Linked DNA regions of Homo sapiens: regions 2 and 3 are each linked to region 1. The links are contacts of gene promoters, found by promoter capture Hi-C in blood cells and fetal thymus (Javierre and others, 2016). All regions are on one chromosome and are shown on one strand. The core of a region is centred on a gene start or on the middle of the fragment in contact, and the rest is flanking DNA. Distances in the headings are between cores, read along the strand shown. Region 1 holds the start of PTPRJ (protein tyrosine phosphatase receptor type J). Region 2 has its middle 25 kb from the start of NUP160. Region 3 has its middle 59 kb from the start of NUP160.

Evidence for each region. The method cuts DNA at HindIII sites, captures the fragments that hold promoters and counts their contacts. A CHiCAGO score of 5 or more calls a contact.
Region 2: a fragment that was not itself captured here is called in contact with the fragment with the promoter of PTPRJ in region 1 in 6 of 17 cell types (total B cells, M2 macrophages, activated CD4 T cells and 3 more); the score reaches 6.1 in total B cells.
Region 3: a fragment that was not itself captured here is called in contact with the fragment with the promoter of PTPRJ in region 1 in 1 of 17 cell types (M2 macrophages); the score reaches 6.2 in M2 macrophages.

What each region holds. Positions count from the first base shown.
Region 1 is chr11:47,979,209-47,982,039 of GRCh38, forward strand. It overlaps PTPRJ (protein tyrosine phosphatase receptor type J), which reads left to right and starts at 1,351. Exons shown (of 25, transcript NM_002843.4): 1 at 1,351-1,800. The coding sequence starts at 1,705. RefSeq lists silencers at 1,262-1,851, 1,952-2,381. The HindIII fragment of the contact is 2,862 bases long and covers 547-2,831 here.
Region 2 is chr11:47,872,346-47,875,176 of GRCh38, forward strand. No RefSeq gene overlaps it. Among named protein-coding and RNA genes, the nearest start is that of NUP160, 25 kb to the left of the region's middle. The HindIII fragment of the contact is 2,702 bases long and covers 81-2,782 here.
Region 3 is chr11:47,906,114-47,908,944 of GRCh38, forward strand. No RefSeq gene overlaps it. Among named protein-coding and RNA genes, the nearest start is that of NUP160, 59 kb to the left of the region's middle. The HindIII fragment of the contact is 4,554 bases long and covers 1-2,831 here.

The DNA.
Region 1 (2,831 bases), core at 101-2,600:
AGTGCTTGTCTGGGTGTGTTGTCTGGTGGGAACCACTTAGACCCTGTAAGTGAATGTGTATTCCCATCTTGTAGATGGTAACCTGAGGCCCAACGGGTGTCTGGAGGTAGTGTTGGACACCTCGTGGTCTGCATCTTGCTGCACACAGAATCCAGCCTAGACTCATTATCCTGGCCTTTGAAGTCTCCCCCAGTATGAATCCCCCAGCCTCCCATTCCTGTTTCTCCGAAGGCCAAGCTCGAAGCATCTGCTGCCTCGTTTCTGCCAAGTTGGCCCCACCTCCTGAGACACTTCTCCCCTCTACTGGCCTGGTGAAACTCAACACATCCTTCAAAGCCCAGCTCAGGTGTCACCTCTCTCCTGGTTGGAATTAACCTCTTCCTCCTTAGCACTCTCTGGTTTGGCCCTTTCTCTTGCGGCTTCTCCTGGGCAAGTGGCATAGCCTCCCTGATCCTAGTGTCTTCCTCTGTGCATGGGCACAGGAGTAATATCTGCTGTGATCTTTAACTCCTGTCAGTTCATTGACCTCTTTAACAACGTGATGAAAGCTTCCAGAAGAGCTAATGTATGTGGAGTCCCACGATGTGTCAGGCTAGGTGTTTAGGACTTTACTAACTACTGTCTCGTTTAATCGCGAATGCAGTGGACCTCTCTCTCCACACGTCCTAGTACGATCTTTATTTCACACGGGAGGAGAGGAGGGTGGGTGGGGTCGGCCAGAGAGGAGAAATGCGTCTCCAGAGTTCACAGGGCTGGTACTACCAGCAGAGCCCCGTCCACCATATGCCACAGCTGGGGTTCTAATCCCTGGACTGGCTTGTACTGGGCTCTCTGCCTCCCTGGCCGGCGCTCGGGGGCTGGGGGACAGAACACAATGTACAGCGTGCCTTCTACAATTTCGGGGTTCACGCACCCCCAAGCCCACCCAGGGCCAGGTCAAACGCGCCTTCGCCGGGTTGCTGTCTACAATCAGGCTTGGCTGCGCTCTCAGTAGGGGTCTCGGTCAACCTCTGCCCACCCGAACCCGGCGCCGTGGACCTGGTGTGAGGCTGGGGAGCCCGTCCTGAGGGGTGCCGGCTCGAGGCGCTAGAGCCACGGAGCCTGGTCCCGGGCTCCAAGTCCCAGGAATGTGGGAGGGCTGGGCGGAGGGGCGGGCGAGGCGGGAGCGCTTCCTCTGCCCGCGGGAGGGGATCCGCGGCCGGCTCGGAGGGGGCGGGGGCAGCGGCGGGCGGCGGCGAGGGGCTGCGGAGCTCCGCAGCCGCCGGGCCGGCCGGGGCGGGAGGAAGCGATGAATATTCAGAGGGGGAGGGGAAGGGAGGGGGCCGAGCGCTCGCCGCGGCTCCCTGCAGCAGCCCCAGCCGCATGACGCGCGGAGGAGGCAGCGGGAGCAGCCGCGGGAGCCGGGACCGGGTAGCCGCGCGCTGGGGGTGGGCGCCGCTCGCTCCGCCCCGCGAAGCCCCTGCGCGCTCAGGGACGCGGCCCCCCCGCGGCAGCCGCGCTAGGCTCCGGCGTGTGGCCGCGGCCGCCGCCGCCGCTGCCATGTCTCCGGGGAAGCCCGGGGCGGGCGGAGCGGGGACGAGGCGGACCGGCTGGCGGAGGAGGAGGCGAAGGAGACGGCAGGAGGCGGCGACGACGGTGCCCGGGCTCGGGCGCACGGCGGGGCCCGATTCGCGCGTCCGGGGCACGTTCCAGGGCGCGCGGGGCATGAAGCCGGCGGCGCGGGAGGCGCGGCTGCCTCCGCGCTCGCCCGGGCTGCGCTGGGCGCTGCCGCTGCTGCTGCTGCTGCTGCGCCTGGGCCAGGTAAGCGCCGGGTGGGCTCGGGCGGGGGGCAGGAGGCTGGGGCGGGACTGGCATTGACTGCACCTGCCCGAGCGTACCCCCCCGGGGGGTTCCGGGGAAGGGGGCGGGGGTCCGGATCCCCGGATCCCCGGAAGGCGACTTGCGGGGACCCCGGCCGGCCTCGCACGCCGGCGATCGATCCCTTTTCCGGCTGCCCAGGATCGGGGGAGAGAGGCGGGATCCGGGTGCCGCGGTGCCCGAGCCTCCCGGGGAAAGCCTCCGCGCGGGCTCCAGGCCGTCCCTGGCCCGGCTCTTCCCGGCGCTGGGCACATCTGGCGGGCACGGGCCCGGCTTCCTAGCCGGAGGCGGCCGGAGGGGGCGTGTTTGCGGAGGTCTGGGGACGCAGAGCCGGGCGGCCTGGCTGAGCCTTTGCCGACAGACCTCCGACCCGGCCTGCAGGGGCCCGAGGGGCGGCGGGGGCGACAGGGCAGGGCCAGGCGCTGGGCAGTGGGGCCCTGGGCGAGGCGCGGGACTCCGGGCCGAGGGCCCTGTTCCTGGGGAAAGTTCCCAGGCCGGGGAAAAGGTGGCCGCACGCTGGCTTTTCTCAAGGCAGCCGGCCCTCTTGGCGTCGTGCTTGATTTCATGGGTGTTTAATTCGTGCTTTGTGGGCGCTGGCTCCCCCTCCCCACCCCACCCTCACCCTCTTTTCTGGCTTCACTTTTCAGATAATGCTGTCCCTGGCGTTTTGGTGACCGACCTTTCCCCTTCCTGGCATTTCCATAGGGGCTGAGGCAGAGCAGCTGAAGGGGCATTCCCATTTCACAGATGGGGAACTGAGGGAGAGAAGTGAAATAGCGGAGCACCCAGCCCGTGCCATGGGAGCTGAGCCAGCGGGCACGTCCTCTTAGCCTCTGGAGCCTGTTGGGGTTTGAACCCGCAGGGGAAGCGGTCTAGGGCTGCCTTGCTGTGCGTTTCTGCAAATGACCATCTTGCTTGTTTTATACAGACACCATCTCTGAGGAAATGAGTTATTGGCTGGGGATGGAACCTGG
Region 2 (2,831 bases), core at 182-2,681, 110 kb before region 1:
GGGGAGGACTCTGCCCCTCACAGAGCCACATGGCGGTTACACCCGGGAAAAGAGTGAACTGTCAGGGGCTGGAAGGGTCAAGCTTTGCAGTATCAAGAGGGTGAGGGGCTTCCTGATTTCTTAAGGAGGATGTGATTGGCTTGTTTGAATAATTCCATGGGAACTGAAACCTGCTACTCAGGAATAAGCAGGAATTGCACCTAGTCCATTTGATAGTGAGGGTTATCTGGCTAGAGGATCTTATCCACCGGAGCAGAGTGGGGAGGAAAACTTGCTGTCAGGCCACTCAAGGCCCCCCACACCCAGTTCCAGTCAAGACAGCACATAATATTGATTTTAGGGTGGGGTGTGGTGGCTCATGCCTGTAATCACAGCACTTTGGGAGGCCGAGGCGGTGGATCATGAGGTCAGGAGATCGAGACCATCCTGGTCAGCATGGTGAAACCCTGTCTGTACTAAAAATACAAAAAATTAGCTGGGCGTGGTGGCGGGCACATGTGGTCCCAGCTACTCGGGAGGCTGAGGCAGGAGAATGGTGTGAAACCGGGAGGTGGAGCTTGCAGTGAGCTGAGATTGCACCACTGCACTCCAGCCTGGGCGACAGAGCCAGACTCCATCTCAAAAAAAAAAAAAAATTGATTTTAGGCCTTACATCACACTACTGACACATGCAGGGAATCAGAGTCAGGTTATGTAGCCCCTCTGGAAACAATAATGTGACTCCAAAGACATAAATGTAAGTTGATTAGAAGTCTTTTTTTTTTTTTTTTTTTTTTCCGAGACAGAGTTTCCCTCTTGTTGCCCAGGCTGGAGTGCAATGGCGTGATCTCAGCTCACCACAACCTCTCCCTTCCAGGTTCAAGCAATTCTCCTGCTTCAGCCTTCTGAGCAGCTGGGACTATAGGCACCTGCCACCAAGCCCAGCTAATTTTTGTATTTTTAGTAGAGACAGGGTTTCACCATGTTGGTCAGGCTGGTCTCAAATTCCTGACCTCATGATCTGCCCGCCTTGGCCTCCCAAAGTGCTGGGATTACAGCCGTGAGCCACTGTGCCTGGCCAGAAGTCTTAAATAGAAAGAAAGAATGTATTCATTAAATAAGGATTTGATCAAACCAGAAGATGGAACATTTCCTGTTCTTTCAAGCACTGACCAGGAAGACTCAGCCAACATACTTGTAGGATTTCTGGTCCCATTGACTAGTCACCCTTGTTGTGGAGATGGAAGCATCTGATTAGGAGAGTCCGATGCCATTCGCCTTTAAGTCCTTGTTCTCCGCAGCAAGCACCTTCTCATTCATTCATTTGCATTCAACAGATTTATTCAAAGCTGACTTTTTTTTTTTTTTGAGATGGAGTCTTGCTCTGTCGCCCAGGCTGGAGTGCAGTAGCGCAATTTCAGCTCACTGCAGCCTCCACCTTCCAGTTTCAAGCGATTCTCCCTGCCTCAGCCTCCCGAGTAGCTGGGATTGCAGGCACCTGCCACCACAGCTGGCTAATTTTTGTATTTTTATTAGAGATGGGGTTTTGCCATGTTGGCCAGGCTGGTCTTAAACTCCTGACCTCAGGTGATCTGCCACCCTCAGCTTCTCAAAGTGCTGGGATTACAGGCATGAGCCATCGTGCCTGGGCACATTATGATTTATTTTAAAAGAGCACTTAAATGTCATATGGAAAATAACCATTTTTAGCTTTGAGGAAGGAGCCAGAGTAAGGTAGGGACACCAGCTAGGAGTTTCTACAGGAGTCCAGATGAGAAATGATAGTTGCTTAGAACAGGGTAGCTGACTGGAGAGAAGTGGACGAATCTGAAACATACTTTTGAAGTACAATCCTTCTGACTTGTTGGTGGGTTGGATGGGGTAGGAGAGAATGGGGGAAAGAGGAGGAAAGTATGGCTCCCAGGTTTCTGGTTGGAATGGTGGGCAAGAATGATGGAGTAAAGATTAGAGGAGTAGATTAAGAACTAAGTTTTGGGCCAGGCGCAGTGGCTCACACCTGTAACCCCAGCACTTTGGGAGCCCCAGGTGGGTGGATCACCTGAGGTGAGGAGTTCAAGACCAGCCTGACCAACATGGTGAAACCCTGTCTCTACTAAATACAAAAAATTAGCCGGGCATGGTGGCAGGTGCCTGTAATCCCAGTTACTTGGGAGGCTGAGGCAGGAAAATCACTTGAACCTGGGAGGCAAAGGTTGCAGTGAGCTAAGATTGTGCCACTGCACTCCAGCCTGGGCAACAAGAGCAAAACTCTGTCTCAAAAAAAATAAAATAAAATAAAAAAAGAAGAACTTACTTTTGGATATGTTGATATGTTAGTTTTTTGTTTTGTTTGTTTTTTGATATGTTAAAGATATCTTTTTTTAAAATTTATTTTTATTATTTATTTAGTTATTCATTTGAGACAAGATGGTGCAATCTTGGCTCACTGGTACCTCCACCTCCTGGACTCAAGCAATCCTCTTGGCTCAGCCTCCCAAGTAGCTGGGATTACAGGCACATGCCTCCATGCCCACCTAATTTAGTAGAGATGGGGTTTCACCATGTTGACCAGGCTGGTCTCAAACTCCTGACCTCAAGTGATAGGCCCACCTTGGCCACCCAAAATCCTGGGATTATAGGCATGAGCCACTGCGCCTGGTTGAGTTCAATGTGACCTTGAACTTCTGGGCTCAAACAATCCTCCTGAGTAGCTGGGACCACAGTCACGTGCCACTGCACCCAGCTGATTTAAAAAAACGTTTTGTATAGGTGGAGTCTTGCTTTGTCATCAAGGCTGGTCTCAAGCTTCAATCTATCCTCTCACCTTGGCCTCCCAAAGTGCTGGGATTACA
Region 3 (2,831 bases), core at 125-2,624, 73 kb before region 1:
GCAAACTCTTTTATAAAAGGCCAGAAATAATATTTTAGGCTTTGTGGGGCATATAGTCTTGATCACAGCTGCTCAACTTTGCTGTTGTAGTACAAAACCACCACAGGCAGTAAATAAATGAGTGAGTGTGGCTGTGTCCTAATAAAATCTTATTTGCAAAAACAGGTGGCAGCAGGCTGGGCATGGTGGCTTGCGCCTGTAATCTCAGCACTTTAGGAGGCTGAGGGGGGCGGGTCGCTTGAGCCCAGGAGTTTGAGATGAGCCTGGACAACATGGCGAAATTCCGTCTCTACAAAAGAAAAAAAAAGCAAAAATTAGCTGGGCATGGTGGTGCACTCCTGTAGTCCCAGCTACTCAGAAGGCTTAGATGGGAGGATCACTTCATCCCAGGATGTTGAAGCTGCAGTGAGCCAGTGATCATGCCACTGCACTCCAGCCTGGGCAACAGAGTGAGACCCTGTCTCGAAAACACAAACAAACAAACAAACAAACAAACAAATGCAGATGGCAGCAGGTTTGGCCCACAGGTCATAGGTTGCTAAACCTTACTCTGTAATACCACAAGCAGAAAACTATGCATCTCCAAGAAATACCAAATCTGAAATAAGATGACAGAGCATGCAACTCCATAAAAGGGACCCCCCAGATTAAGCAGTCTTAAATCTCAGATCTGACTGTGTGTGTATGGTGGCTCACACCTGTAATCCCAGCACTTTGAGAGGCTGAGGTGGGTGGATCACTTGAGCTCAGGAGTTCGAGACCAGCCTGGGTAACATGGAAAAACCCCGTCTCTACAAAAAATACAAAAATTAGCCACTGTGGTGGTGGGCACCTGTAGTCCCAGCTACTTGGGAGGCTGAAGTGGGAGGATTGCTTGAGCCCAGGAGGCAGAGGTTGTAGTCAGCTGAGATCGCACCACTGCACTCCAGCCTGGGCCACAGAGCAAGATCCTGTCTCAGAAAAAAAAAAAATCTCAGATCTATTAATTACAAGTTGTGAAACTTTGGAAAAAAGCCATAACTTCTCTCATGCTCAGGCTTTTCATTTGTGATATGGAGATTATAAGACCTACCCTGCCTACCCCAGAATGATGGTGAAGTGCAAATGGATGATCGTGCATCAACAGCAAGCAGCTCTCATTACTATTGTGGAACTGCAGAAACGCCCTTATGAATTAAAGACTAAAGCTCTTCATGGACAAGATGGTGCTTATTCACTATTGAATCAATAGTGCCTCCCACATATTAGCACTCAGAATAAATTTATTGACTTTATAAATGAAATACATATTTCCTTCTTTCAAATCAAGGTGCCATTATTTGAACAGACCAGAGCAGTAGCAGCTGATAGTGAAACAATTTGAAAAAAGGACATGGACCATTGAATTTTTGCAGTTTTAGCTATATTCAGGGAATGTTTCTGGACCAAGGTGCTTACACAACTTTGGGCATGCAAAGATGAGCTCCCATCAGGACATTACATACACGTTTCCAACTCCCTTCAGATGTACTGGAAACATTCCGTCATTGAGGGGGATTTTCCCTTGGGCCTTTATTTCTCATCAGTAATATCCTCATTGCAAAAGAATCCTCAGCCATTTGACTGACTACTCCTGGGGCTTGCTCCAACACTATATCTTCCCATAGATGGACACGGCCATGTGTACAAACTCCCCAGACGCATCATGCTAGCTTGTTAAGGGTTTGTCTGGTGTTTTACGGGGCATTATTGCCAAAATGAAGGTTAAAGATACCAGTGTAATGAATATTACTAATGCCAGCTGGGCGCAGTGGCTCATGCCTGTAATTCCAACACTTTGGGAGGCCGAGGTGGGCGGATCACTTGAGGTCAGGAGTTTGAGACTAGCCTGGCCAACATGGTGAAACCCCGTCTCTACTTAAAAAAATATAAAAGTTAGCCGGGCATGGTGGCACATGCCTGTAATCCCAGCTACTCGGGAGGCTGAGGCACAAGAATCGCTTGAACCTGGGAGGTGGAGGTTGCAATGAGCTGAGATCGTGCCAATGCACTCCAGCCTAGGCAACAGGGGTGAGACTCTGTCTCAAAAAAAAAAAAAAAAGCATGAATATTACTGATGCCAATAAAAGGAAAATGAAACAAAAACCTTGGCGATTGTTGTATATTAAGTCAAACCGAATAGCCCATTTGTCTGTCTATTTGGAGGCAGCAGGAAATAGTGGAAAGATCATGTGTGTTAGAGCCAGGCAGACCTGAGTTAAAGTCATTACTAGAGCTATGAAAGAGTTATGTGGTCTTGCACAATTTACTTAACCTTAATGTTATCATCTCAAGGTTGTTGTGAAACGAGCTAGAACAGTGCTTCTGAAAACCACTCTTGGGCGAGAAAGGACAAATATTCTGATAGGTGGAGGCTGTTGTTGGCTGGGCAGTGTCCCCCAGAGGGGTCTACTACAGTGGCCTTTTCCCAGGGCTTTGCCTTCAACTTAGCACGTTTAGCAGCTATTATTACTATTATGGAACTGCAGAAACACCTTAGGAATTAAAGACTAAAGCTCTTCATGGAAGAGATATGGCTTATTCACTACTGAATCAGTGGCACTTGCCACATATTGGCTGAGACCACTCTTGGCTGAGAATAGATAAAAGGCACTCTTTTTCTTTTTCTTTTTTCTTTTTTGAGACAGAGTCTCTCTCTGTCACCCAGACTGGAGTGCAGTGGCGCCATCTTGGCTCACTGCAAGCTCCGCGGTTCACGCCATTCTCCTGCCTCAGCCTCCCAAGTAGCTGGGACTACAGGCGCCTGCCACCATGCCCTGCTAATTTTTTTGTGTTTTTGTAGAGACGGGTTT